Linked DNA regions of Homo sapiens: region 2 is linked to region 1. The links are contacts of gene promoters, found by promoter capture Hi-C in blood cells and fetal thymus (Javierre and others, 2016). All regions are on one chromosome and are shown on one strand. The core of a region is centred on a gene start or on the middle of the fragment in contact, and the rest is flanking DNA. Distances in the headings are between cores, read along the strand shown. Region 1 overlaps SP7 (Sp7 transcription factor). Region 2 holds the start of TNS2 (tensin 2).

Region 1 (6,176 bases), core at 1-2,500:
GTTTTTCCCAGCTCCGAATTCCCGAACACCTTCTCCCACTCACTATCTTAGCGCTTAGAAAGCCCGAAATAAGCCACATTCAGGGAAGTACCAAATTAATCCTCCCAGGCCTGTGGATCACCCAGAGGAAAATACAGGCTATGTCACAGGCAGCTGGCTGGAAAGCTGAGGGAAAAGCCTCAGAGAGGAGGAACAGTGCTGCACCCACACGGTTAGGCGTCCTGGAAAGGGAGGTGGGGACGGTTGGAAAACTAACATTTCCTGCCAGGCGCGGTGGCTCACGCCTGTAATCCCAGCACTTTGGGAGGTCGAGGTGGGTGGATCATCTGAAAGGAGTTCGCAGACTAGCCTGGCCAACATGCTGAAAACCCCATCTATACTAAAAATACAAAAATTAGTCGGGCGTGGTGGCGGGCACCTGTAATCCCAGCTAATCGGGAGGCTGAGGCAGGAGAATCTCTTGAACTCCGGAGGGGGAGGTTGCAGTGAGCCAAGATCGCACCATTGCACTCCAGCCTGGGTAACAAGAGGGAAACTTCGTCTCAAAAAGGAAAACTTTATTTTATTTTATTTTTTTGAGAGACAGGGTCTCGCTCTATTGCCCAGGATGAAGGCAGTGGTGCTATCTCAGCTCACTGCAACCTCTGCCTCCCCGGTTCAAGCGATTATCCTGCCTCAACCTCTGGAGTAGCTGGGATTACAGGCATGCTTCACCACGCCCAGCTAAGTTTGTATTTTTAGTAGAGACGAGGTTTTACCATGTTGGCCAGGCTGGTCTCAAACTCCTGACCTCAAGTGATCTGCCTGCTTTGGCCTCCCAAATTGCTGGGATTACAGGCCTGAGCCACCTTGCCGGGCTGCAAAACTATTTCCTGAGCACTTGTTACGATAAGTGCTTTTATAATCTTTACAACCCCATAAGGTGGGTGCTGTTCTGTCACCATGAGGAAAGTGAGTCACAGAGAGATTGGACCTAGATACACCCAAACCAGTTATTCTCACTTAAGAATAAAAGTAAGGCTGGGTGTGGTAGCTCACACCTGTAATCCCAGCACTTTGGGAGGCCGAGGCTGATCTCTTGAGCCCAGGAGTTCAAGACCAGCTTGGGCAAAATAGCAAGACCCTGTATCTACAAAAAATTCAAAAGTTAGCCAGCGTGGTGGTGGCAAGCGTCTTTAGTCCAGCTACTCAGAAGGCTGAGATAGGAGAATCCAGACTACAATGATCCAAGATAGCACCACTGCACTCCAGCCTGGGTCAAAGAGCGAGACCCTGTCAAGCAAGCCAGAGAGAAAGAGCCGGGCGCGGTGGCTCACGCCTGTAATCCCAGCACTTTGGGAAGCTGAGGTGGGCTGATCCCCTGAGGTCGGGATTTCGAGACCAGCCTGACCAACATGGAGAAACCCCATCTCTACTAAAAAATACAAAACCAGCCAGGCATTGTGGTGCATGCCTGTAATCCCAGCTACTCGGGAGGCTGAGGCAGGAGAATCCCTTGAACCTGGAAGGCGGAGGTTGCAGTGAGCAGAGATCGCGCCACTGCACTCCATCCAACCTGGGCAACAAGAGCGAAACTCCGTCTCAAAAAAAAAAAAAAACAAAAAACAAAACAAAACAAAAAAAAATGGGAGGGAAGGGAGAGGGAGAAAGAAAGGAAAGAAAGAAAGAGAATGGGGGCCCCTCTTACAGACTTTGGAAAAAACATTGAATTCTTTGAGTCTCACTTTTCTCATTTGCAGTGTCCTAATTATTTCATATGGTTGTTTTCCATACAAAATAATAAAATGAAGCTATTTAATAAATTTTAAAGTGCTAAACAAATGTCAGAGGTTAATAGCTATAACTGTGCCATCAACTAGGTGACCTTGGTCAGAGTTCATTAACAAATGTTAAGTGATTTGAAGATGTAGAAGGCTGTCCCCACTCCCAAGAGCTACCAGTCTCATTGAATAATCTAGGGGGCATTTAGTTCTAGTATTCTGGATTCCGTGTCTGCCCTTCTTTTTCACCTGAAAAATTCCCCCCAAGAGAGTTATTACCAGGTCAGAAAACAAAGGGCTCCAGAGTCTCCTGAAAATGCACTTCACCTGAGAAGGCAAGTGGATCTCCTCTAATCTAGTACTTCTCAACTGTTAAGGGACATAGGAATCACCTGAGCATCTCCTAAGGTGGCGCTCAGAGGCTATAGTTCCAAAGAATCCCCAGCTGATACTGCACAGACCACATTTTAAGTAGCAAGGCTCTAACCTAGCGGTCCCCAACTTTTTGGCACCAGGTTTAGTGGAAGACAGTTTTTCCAGGGGGAGCGGGGGAGGGAATGGTTTGGGGATGAAACTGTTACACCTGAGATCATCAGGCATTAGTTGGATTCTCATAAAAAGCGGGCAACCTAGGTCCTTCACGTGCGCAGTTCACAACAGAGTTCGCGCTACTATGAGAATCTAATGCCGCTGATCTGACAGGAGGCGGAGCTCAGCTTGCTCAGCTCGTCTCCGGCTGTGCGGTTCCTTTACAGGCCACCGACACGACGGGCCGTGGCGCGACCCCTGCTCTAACCTTTTCCCATAGCCCCATTTAATTTCCTATGTGAGTTCACCGTCACCTGGGAAGTCACAGAAAGCTTGAAGAACATAAGGTATACACTGGGGATGGTTTGGGGAACCTGGCTGGGAAAGCCTCCCTGAGAAGGGGAAGTGGGCAGGTTTGAGGGAGAGGAAGTCGGTGACTGACAGATTAGTGGAGAGCACTGAGGACCCACGATAGTTTCCGTTTGTACCTTAGTCGTAACACCATCCAAACCCAGATACCCCTAGGAAAAATCACTCCGGCCTGCAACTTGCATCCTTCGATGAAACCTCGATTTTCACCATCAGGTTATAATGATCGGTTAGGTGCCTGCTTCTTACCCTGTAAGGTGAACTGGAGAGAAGGAACAGTGCTGTTCCGCCCGCTGCCCCCGCCCTGGCCTGGCACAAGTACTGTCCCCTCCTCCATACTGCTTATTTAACGTTTGTGGAACGCTTTTCACCATTTGCGGGTTCTAGAAAGGCCCAAGTCCAGGCCCGGCGCGCTCACCCAGTAACTTCACCAGGGGGCGCGGCTGGCCAGGCAACGCAGCGACCGTGACCCACGCCCTATGGGCTCCGAGCGCTTAGCGGGCGGTCTCCGCCGGCCCCTCCCTACGACCTGGGCGGGAACCGAGAGAGCGCGCAGGCCGCTTCTAAAAGGGGCCCCCTACTTTGGGAGTCGTCACCGGAGCCTGGGTGCCCGGAGCTCCGCCCGCTACCCCTTCCCGGGCCCGCTGGAGCCCGGCGTCCCGACCCGGGGCCGGTAACCAGGCGCACATGGCCCGCCCGGCCCTGTTTGTCCTGGCAGCGCGCCGCCGCTATTTGAAGCGGTTTTTATCTCCCAGAAACCAGCAAAACCCCAAGCGGAGTCTAGGGAAGATGAAAGGGGCCGAAGGGTTGGGGAGGGGAGGACCGCGAGGCTGCGGCGGGCGGGAGCTGGCACCGGACAGGCGGAGACCGGGAGGCGAGAGGGCCAGACTCTGGGGGGTCCGGAGGAGCCCGCCCGGCGGGGTTGAGGCGGGATCCCGGGGTTCCACTCCAGGCCGCCGCCTCGCTCAGACCAGCTCCAAGGCGCCCCCCGCCTTTCCTCTGCCCCAGCCCCCTCTCCCGGGTCTCTTCCGTCACAGCCCCCAGCCCACTAAAGAAGTCTTCGGAACTCGGATTTCTTCAAAGCGCCTTTGAAGTCGCGCGCCCAGCCGGAGGGCAGGAGATTTCGCACCTGGGCGGGGGCGGGAGTGGCGTCAGGGTGGGGAGGGGGCTCGTAACCCGAGCCCCCCCAGGATCGCCGGCCCCCTCCCACCCGTAGCAGCCCCTCTTGCGACCCGTGCGGTGGACAGTCCGACGCGGGGCGCAGCTGGGAGTCGGGCCCAGGCCGGGGGGAGCGGCCTGTGAGCCCCCTCAGCCCAGCGGGGTAACCTTGGGGGGCGGGGGCCGCACAAAGCCCTATTGTGGCTCGGGGATGCTGCCACAGAGTGGTTTTTGTTCTTCGGCTAACTCCGTGGCGGGCACGACTGATTGCAGACCCAGGGCAGGGGGCGGGTTACGTGCCAGGCCCAGTCTGCCCGCCGGGAGCCGCACCACCGCCCGACTGGGGCCGCGCAGGAGTCCGCACTGCAACCGCGGTGCCCGCGCTCGGGTCGCGTCACTGCCCTGACCAGGGTCAGTTGGTGCAGTCCAGAAAGGGCCAGGGTAGAAACCAGTGAGTCTTCCCAACTCTGCAGAAAGCACTGCACGCCCAAAAACTGAACACCGCTGGAGGATTTGACCGAGAAACAATTTTGTTTTGTGTTTTGTTTTGAGACGGAGTCTCGCTCTGCAGCCCACGCTGGAGTGCAGTGGCGCGATCTCAGCTCACTGCAACCTCCACCTCCCAGGTTCCACGATTCTTCTGCCTCAGCCTCCCAAGCAGCTGGGATTACAGGCACCTGCCATCACGCCCGGCTGATTTTTGTATTTTTTAGTACAGACAGGGTTTCATCATGTTAGCGAGGATGGTCTCGAACTCCTGACCTCAGGTGATCCGCCCTTCTGGGCTTCCCGAAGTGCTGGGATTACATGTGTGAGCCACCACGCCCGGCCGATAAACTATTTTACCGCGAGCATAGGTGAGCAAACGTGCACAATAGAATATTCGCCCATGAGTAGTCCCCAATTTGCTAAGGAAAAAAAACCATTGGCCCTCGCTTCACCCTTCCTCTTCTCCTTTTCTCACCAGGACAAAATTTCAAATCCAACTTTTATTTATTAAATTAAAAAAAAAAGACTCCACAAAGGGCATGATCCCTTCCATTCCACAATGTTCTCTCCCCAAGCTCCAGCGGCTTTAACCCTTTAACTTGGGGCCTTGAGACAGCAGGGGACAGAAAAGGAGGATCCAACGTTACAGGAAAGGCACGAAGCGGCTTTAAAAGTCACTGGAGGTGGAGATGGGAGCATCCAAAGTCCCAGGGTGGGGGTGCGTGGATGCACCACCAGATCAGCTTGGGGGCCTCTGTCCTCCTAGCTCTTTAAGTTCTTTCTCAGGGCTTCTAGGCACCAGATCTAGCATAGTGCCTTGCACAGAGTAGGCACTCAATACATACTTATTTGAATCTGATCCTAGAGAAAGCCTTCCCCACCCATTCTTCAGGAGGTGCACCCCCAAACCAATGTCCTCCTGTTAGATGGGCTTCCCCAAAGAGCACATCTAAGATGGCAGCTGCAAGCTCTCCATAACCATGGCAACAGGGGATTAACCTGATGGGGTCATGGTGTCTAAGGGGTGGGGCAGTGGAGGAACCTGCTCTGCAGTCAAGGGAGATGGGGTACATTCCAGTCCTTCTCCCCTCCATAGGACTTGAGGTTTCACAGCTTCTGGCTGGGGCTGGGGATATTAGGGATCCCCCTAATCAAGAGATACCCCATCAACTGTTTAGCAGAGATGTAGCTAACCCAATTTGTAGAGACTTCATTACAAGAGAAACCCTATCAACTGAGATTCTGATGATAGACATTCTATTAACAAGATCTTCTCCACTAACATTTTGTCTATACAGAGATGCATTTGACTAGAATTTCCTTAGCAGAAATGGATCCACTTCCCTCCCCAGCTCACTCTACCTGACCCGTCATCATAACTTACATAAATAGAATTATTACTATTCATTACTCCTGGTACATAGGGGTTAAATATACAGGCCTGGGGGCAGCCTCCCTGACCCTGGGGTCACCCCATCTTTGGGATCAGATCCCCACTGGTCTGCCCCCCTCTTGGCACCCTCTGGCCAGGTCACTAACCCCAATACCCCTGATGAAGAGGCCACCAGGGGGCAATAAATTATCATTATCATTGTGTTTGTAAAAAGGAAAAAAGAGTTCTGGAGAATGGAAAGCAATGGTGTAAGAAGTTGGGAAGACTGAAGCCTGGAGGCTGAGGGACAGCAGGAAATAAGCTTGAGAAGCAGAAAGGGGTACATGTCAAGGAGTGAGATGGAGAAATAGTGTTGGGAGCCCAAATAGAAAGTGTGTTGGTGTGGCAGGGCCAGAGTCTAGGAAGCCGGAGTGCAGGTATCAGGCACAAGGGGAGGGCCTGAGATGAGAGTTTGTGGAAAGCCAGTCTCATGGTGAAGA
Region 2 (6,176 bases), core at 1,806-4,305, 270 kb before region 1:
TCCCTGGCGCGGCCCGGCTGGCCGTCTGCGCACCCTCTCTCCCCTCGGCTCTTTGTGAGTGTGGGTTCGCGGGAGAAGGTGGGGAGGAGAGGAGGCCGAGGGGTGGGGAGCTGGCGGAACGTGGGGATTGGAGCCGGGAGGGAGGAGGAGGAGGAGCGGGCTGCCACGGGCGCGGGCGCGGGCGCGGGGCGCGGCGGGGGCGGGAGGGAGCCCAGCCGAGCCCGGCCGCCCGCTCCCGCCACTGCCACCGCCTCCTCCTCCGCGTCCGCTCGGCGCGGGCACGGGCGGGATGGGCTGGCCCGGCGGCTCCCCCTGCTGCTGCCCCGCCCCGCCGCGCCCCCGCCCGGCCGGGCGCCCCCCGCAGGTGAGTGGCCGCGCCGCGCTGGGCGGGCGGCGGTCTCTGCGTCACGGCCGCGCGGGCAGTGCCAGGGGCGGGCGCCAGGGGGCGCGGGGCCGCCGGAGGTCGAGAGGGCGCGGGGCGCGGGGCGCGGCCCAGGGCTGGGGCCGGGGGCTCTGGCTGGCCGCGGAGAGCTGGGAGCAGCGGGAGGCCGGGACAGTGACTAGGGGGCGGGGCGCGGCCGCGGCCCTACTCGATCAGGCCGCCACGCCTTCCAGCACCCGGGGCGCACGGGGCCGCACGCCGTGCCACACACGCAGGCCCGGGACCCGGCAGCAGCTGGCAGCGGCGCTCGGGCCCCGGCCTGGCAGGGTGCGGGCGAACGTTTTCCTTTCCTGCTTCACATGTGGGACAGAGGCCGTAAGCGGGCACAGATGAGGCTGATTCGACTCGCCAGCCCCGCTCTGCGGCCCCCTCCAGTCTGCCCCCATCCTCCAGACCCTTCTGGGAACACCCCCAGAGCCGCCGCCCTCCCTCGCTCCTTCCCTGGGCCTTACCCCTCCTCCGCGGCGGCCGGGCTCCCAGCCTCCCTTCCAACCACAGCTATTTCCAGAAAGGGGGGTGTGGGTGGAGGGGTTTCTCCAAACAAACCCAAGACTTCGGAGAGAGAGGGGGCCCGGCTGGGGGAGAGGTTGACAGGCTCTGGAATGTTACAGGCGGGAGGAGGGTGAGGGTCCAAGAGGGTCTAGTGATGCCTTCCCAGCCCTCCTCAAGTGAGCTACTTTTCCCCTCGGGACTGGCTCATAGGGATCCCATCCCTGCTTCCCTTCCGAGGTGCGAGTGCCACAGGATGGGAGGGACTCACAGCCACAGTGGATCCTGACCACCCCACCCCTCACCGAGCTCACTGCTTGGGCACCTCCTTGCTGGGTCTGGGTGGGGAGTGTGAGACCAGTGAAGGTGAGAGGATGTCTGGGGACCTGTTCCAGGTGAGGGGACTTTCAGCCCCTATGGAGGCAGCAGGAGAGTGAAGCATGTAGAGGAGTCCTGGTCAGGGCCATGTGCCATAGGAGCAGAAGCTGGGACTGGACAGAAAAAAGCCACCCCCACTGCCCACCTTGTCACACTGCCCCATCTCCCCCAAGCAGGGCTGGGGGCTCGACAAGGCCAGGCCCGGTTGCCCACACTGGCCGGGGGCCTGGAATGTGCTGGGACACAGCCAGGCTGGCAGGATGGGGGTGGGTCACAGAGCCCGTGCTCCTCTCCAGTTACAGGCAGGGAGCCCAGGCCTGCCACACAGATGCCACCTTCTGGCCAGGATATCCTGGGGACACATTTCTTGGCCTGGAAAATTGGAGCTTCCAGGGAGAGGTGTCAGGCTAGGCCCAATCCAGTCAGGTCCTCGCAAGGGTCTCAAGTGGGCACCCACAGCAGGCCTCACCCCAGAGAATGCAGGATTCTTCATCCCAGGGAACCCATCCTGGTGGATATGAAGGAGCAGGAAGCAAGTAGAAGGGACTCCGTGGGAGAAGCCAGGGCTGGGGGAGTTGCCTGAGTACTGGGACATTCAATAAATACCATGCAAATGAGAGGGGCACATTTGCACATTCTTTCAAGTGACAGCTATAGCCTGTCCCAGGGGCTGCTGTCCACAGCTTGGGGCTGAAGACTCCCAGGCCATTAACCCCTTAGCTTTTAGGAAGATTACTCCCCCTTTTTCAAGGCCCCATCCACCTCCCTCCCTTGACTCCCAGGACGGGAAGTTGGCCATGTTCCCAGGAGGGAGGCCGGAGGCCCATGGATGGGGGTGGAGTATGTGTTGGGAGGGGGGACCTCCTGTCCAGTCCTCAGGCCCTGGGACAGCTGCTGAGGAAGGAGAGCAGACCCAGGAGAGCCATGAAGGTAGTACTCAGGCTTCGGGGTTGCCGCGGGGGGAGGGTGCAGCCCTTGGGTAGAGAGCCCAAGTTGCAGGGCTGGAAAGAGGGCTAGGGATCTGTGAGATCATGTCTGAAACAAAGCCAGGGAATGGGTGAGTGGGGGGCACTGTGTCAGGAGCAGAAACCTGGGGGCTTTCAGGAGAAGGGCCTCATATGCCTTAGGCTGTGGCAGGAGAATGGATTACTCCCCAAACCTGAGCAAAGCAGTCTTGTGGCTGGAACTTGGCCTTGCAAGGTGTATTGAGGGTAAAGGTGGGCGGTGCATGCTTTCCTTTTCCTACTTCATAACGAGTGAAACTGAGACAGGAAGGGGGCCCCCAGTCCCATTTTTACCTGACTCTCAGGACACACTCGGGATCCTGGGCCTGCCTGCTGGTAGTAGTTCCCAGCTCCACTCCCTCCCCAGCGGAAGTCCCTCGAGAGCTTGAGAGTTCAGGCTGGAGCCTGGCTGGGACACACTGTTCCCCACTTGCCCTTTAGCCCTGCCCCGAGACCAGAATTCTCACCCGGCCCCACCGGGGGTGGGGGCAGAATCTCAAGACCATGGATCCCTGCAGATCCCTGGAGAGTGTGGTGTCCCAGGTGTGGGACAACTCCAGAGTTGGGGGAGTAGGGGGAGCAAAAGATCACAGGCTGACACTCCCAGCAGGGTAGATCCTGGGAATCTGATCTCCTGGCCTCCCCCACATCCTCCCCCCTCCACTTCCTGGAGCAGCGACCTGCCCCCTTCCCGCCTGCACTTCCCTCCACTTCCAGGGCCGGGCTTCTCCTCACACCAGCCAGACAGCCTACCCTCCGCCCAGGGGAAGCGGCTGCCTCCGCCAGGCCGCTTCCAGGAAGCCCCGGGCCAGGCCCCAGCATTGTTCAGGCCCTGGGGCCAGCACCCCAGCCAGCCGAACACCATGAAGTCCAGCGGCCCTGTGGAGAGGCTGCTCAGAGCCCTGGGGAGGAGGGACAGCAGCCGGGCCGCAAGCAGGGTAGGAGTGCCCACCAGCTGGGCAAAAGAGGGGCAGGGGTGGAGGTGCGGGCAGTGGGGGAGGGGACCAGGAATCAGGCCAGGCCTTCTTCCCAATTTCAGCTTCCTCAGCCTTCTTCCCTGGCCCAGCATCCCCTCCGGAGTGGCCAGGGCTGTAGTGTGAGGGGATGTTTGGGTTAGAGTAGGTCCTGCTGTCTGTTTTGGCTCCTCTCACCTTCCCTGCTCTAGCCTGGGCCAACCCCAGGAGGTCCTGGCCCCCCAACATAAGCCCCAGGTGCCTCACTGCAGGACTTTGCCATGCGCTATCCAGGTATCCTCCAGCAGGCTCAGAGATCATCAGGCCCCTTCCCTGGCCCAGGGAAGTTTGAGGGAAATGGGGTGGCAGGGTGGAAAAAGAGAGAGGAGAGGGAGTCAGGAGTGCTTTGGAACTGGAGGTTTGCTTTCCACTGACAACATCCATATCTGCTGCTAATGCCAACATGCTCCCAAGTGTCTTAGTGGGTCCCACAAAGTTGATCCAGCCCAGAAGAGTTGCAGGGACAGTCAAGAAACCAGAGGTGCTGCCCACATCCCCATCACTCCCTTTCCCAACTTCCCAGCCTTGCCCCAAAAGCAGCAGCTCAGGACAACCTGAGATACTACTGTGATGGGTCCCCGGGAGGAGGACAGCAGGAGTCTGAACTCCAGAGGAGGGGGAATATGGGTAAAACAGAGAGATGGCAAGGAGACAAGCTGTCCCCAGACAGAGGATGGGAGGAGAGAACCCACAGTGGGAGGGGAAGGGACTGAGATAGGCCTGGGCCATAAGGGGGCATCCCAGGCTCCTGCCTCACTGCATCTCTGGGTCAGGAGGGGCTGAACAGGGAATCTGGTCCACTCCTTTCTCATTCAATGCGTGAATCCCAAGTGCCAGGGTGCAGGGGGTCGGGGGAGAACTCACAGCATCCAAAGCCAGCTAAACATCTCTCCCCAGTGACAGGCTTCTATCTGTTTCCCTCCAGCATGACCACCCCCATTACACAATTGCTGTCTGCTGCCTCAGTGCACAATGAGTAAACATGTTGTTCTGACCGTGGGGGAGGAGGGCATGTCAGCTGCCTGGAGCGTGGGGACAGCAGGAGCTAAAGGAGCAGGACTGGCTGAGGCCACTCCTGCCGGCTCAGTCTGGTGCTGCAGGACTGACATACAACACATATGTTTGGAACCTCCCTGCTCACTCTGCACACAGGTCTCCATGCGGGGAGGACAAGATGGGAAGAGTCAGGGAGTACCCTTACCACACCAGGGGGAAAGCCTGAGCATGGAGGCTTTTCCACAAGGGCATCACACACCAGGGCCATGTGAGGGGCCCAAGTGATCCCCTGGGGAGGAGCTGACCCAGCAAAGGTGACGCAAGGGGTCAGATTCCATGCACAGTTGAGGACAGGCCCCATGACCGCCCTGAAGCAGCTGTGGCCAAGTGCGTCCTACAAGTTTGAGGGCTTGATCTGGACGGAGAAAACCAGTGCAGTGCTAAGGCAAGGCTCCTGCCCAGTCCCGGAGATGGAGATGGGCCCACTGGGAACTCACACCTCTGTTTGTCCCTCCACCTTCAGCCTAGGAAAGCTGAGCCTCATAGCTTCCGGGAGAAGGTTTTCCGGAAGAAACCTCCAGTCTGTGCAGTATGTAAGGTGACCATCGATGGGACAGGCGTTTCGTGCAGAGGTGAGGCTCTCTGTCCTGTGACTCTGAGACCCTCCACCCAGTACCACTGTGTTGCACAACTCCAGCAGGCCAGCTCACACAATCTCAAATGTAATATGCTGCTCCTGGATTAGGCACAATGGCAGCTAAGAAGCAGCTGCCTCCCCCTTCAGATGGCCCTGGCTCCCCATGACAGACACCTCCCATAACCCAGGAGAGCCAGTACTCTCCATCACCTTCCCATCCTGACTTGTGACGGTAGTCTTCCTTCCCTCTCTTCCTCCTCACCTCCACCCACCCTGGAACGTTACCCCTGGCCTGGGCAGTAGTACCCCACTGCCACACTCTTCCCTCAAAACCTAGCCCTGCTCCTCTGCCCCAGCCAGCCCAGTCCAGGTGGGATCTTGGAAGTCCCAGGGTCTGGTTCCAGGGTCTGGGAGATGAGGGAAGGCCATTCCTTCCACTGTCCCACAGGCCCCTGCTAACCCCTCTCCTCCCCTTACCTTCCCTAGTCTGCAAGGTGGCGACGCACAGAAAATGTGAAGCAAAGGTGGGTATCTGATTCTACCTGATAGGGGGAGAGGGTCTGGAGTCCCTTCCTCCTCCCAAACAGGCTTCTGCAACCACACTGGCATCAACCCTCCACCTCCACCCCTCTCACCACTGGGGAACCCCTCCTGGGTGGGAGGGGTGCTGTACTGGGCCCTTTAAGAACCACCCTACTCCGCCTTCTGGAGGGCTGGCCAGCCCAGGCGGGTGGACAGCAAGACAGCGTTTGTCTTGGTGCTGTGCCCAGACTGCAGCTGGCGAGAGGATGGGGGTGGGGAAGAGGAGGAGAATGAGGAGGAGGAAGGGTGGGGTGGGTGGGGAGTGGGGGAGCAGGATTTCAGAGACTGGGCAGCCGGATGGGCTGTGCCTTCCCTCTGGGGAAGGGTCCTCAAAATGCCTGGGCGGGTCTTGTCCTGGGCCCTGGAAAAACTGGGCCTTTCCAGGTATAAGCTGTGGATAGCACCCACTGTCCACTGGGGACCTGAGACAGCCCTGTCTCTGAAGAGGTCCCCTGGTCCTCTTCCTTCAGGACAGGGGGAGGAGGATCCCAGGGCCCTGGAGCTGGCTTGGGGGAGCTGTGTGCCCAGGGGCGGGGTCTCCCGGTGAAAGAAGCCAGTGTCCATCCCTGGCCATGGCCTGCCTGCTTGGCTCTATATATAACTCCTGCCCTACAGCTGGATGAATGGGGGTCTGT

The links. Contacts are between HindIII fragments. The CHiCAGO score rates a contact against its expected background, and 5 or more counts as called.
Region 2: the fragment with the promoter of TNS2 here is called in contact with a fragment that was not itself captured in region 1 in 1 of 17 cell types (fetal thymus); the score reaches 6.0 in fetal thymus.

The regions. Positions count from the first base shown.
Region 1 is chr12:53,321,786-53,327,961 of GRCh38, forward strand. It overlaps SP7 (Sp7 transcription factor), which reads right to left. Exons shown (of 3, transcript NM_001173467.3): 3 at 4,790-6,176. Among named protein-coding and RNA genes, the nearest start is that of AAAS, 3.3 kb to the left of the region's middle. RefSeq lists enhancers at 2,004-2,737, 6,002-6,176 and a silencer at 3,051-3,550. The HindIII fragment of the contact is 2,736 bases long and covers 1-2,618 here.
Region 2 is chr12:53,047,010-53,053,185 of GRCh38, forward strand. TNS2 (tensin 2) reads left to right here and starts at 3,056. Exons shown (of 29, transcript NM_170754.4): 1 at 3,056-3,251; 2 at 4,846-4,954; 3 at 5,446-5,483. The coding sequence starts at 3,177. The region is part of intron 2 of TNS2-AS1 (TNS2 antisense RNA 1); the gene reads right to left. RefSeq lists silencers at 185-254, 325-914 and enhancers at 372-1,216, 1,217-2,060. The HindIII fragment of the contact is 14,276 bases long and covers 1-6,176 here.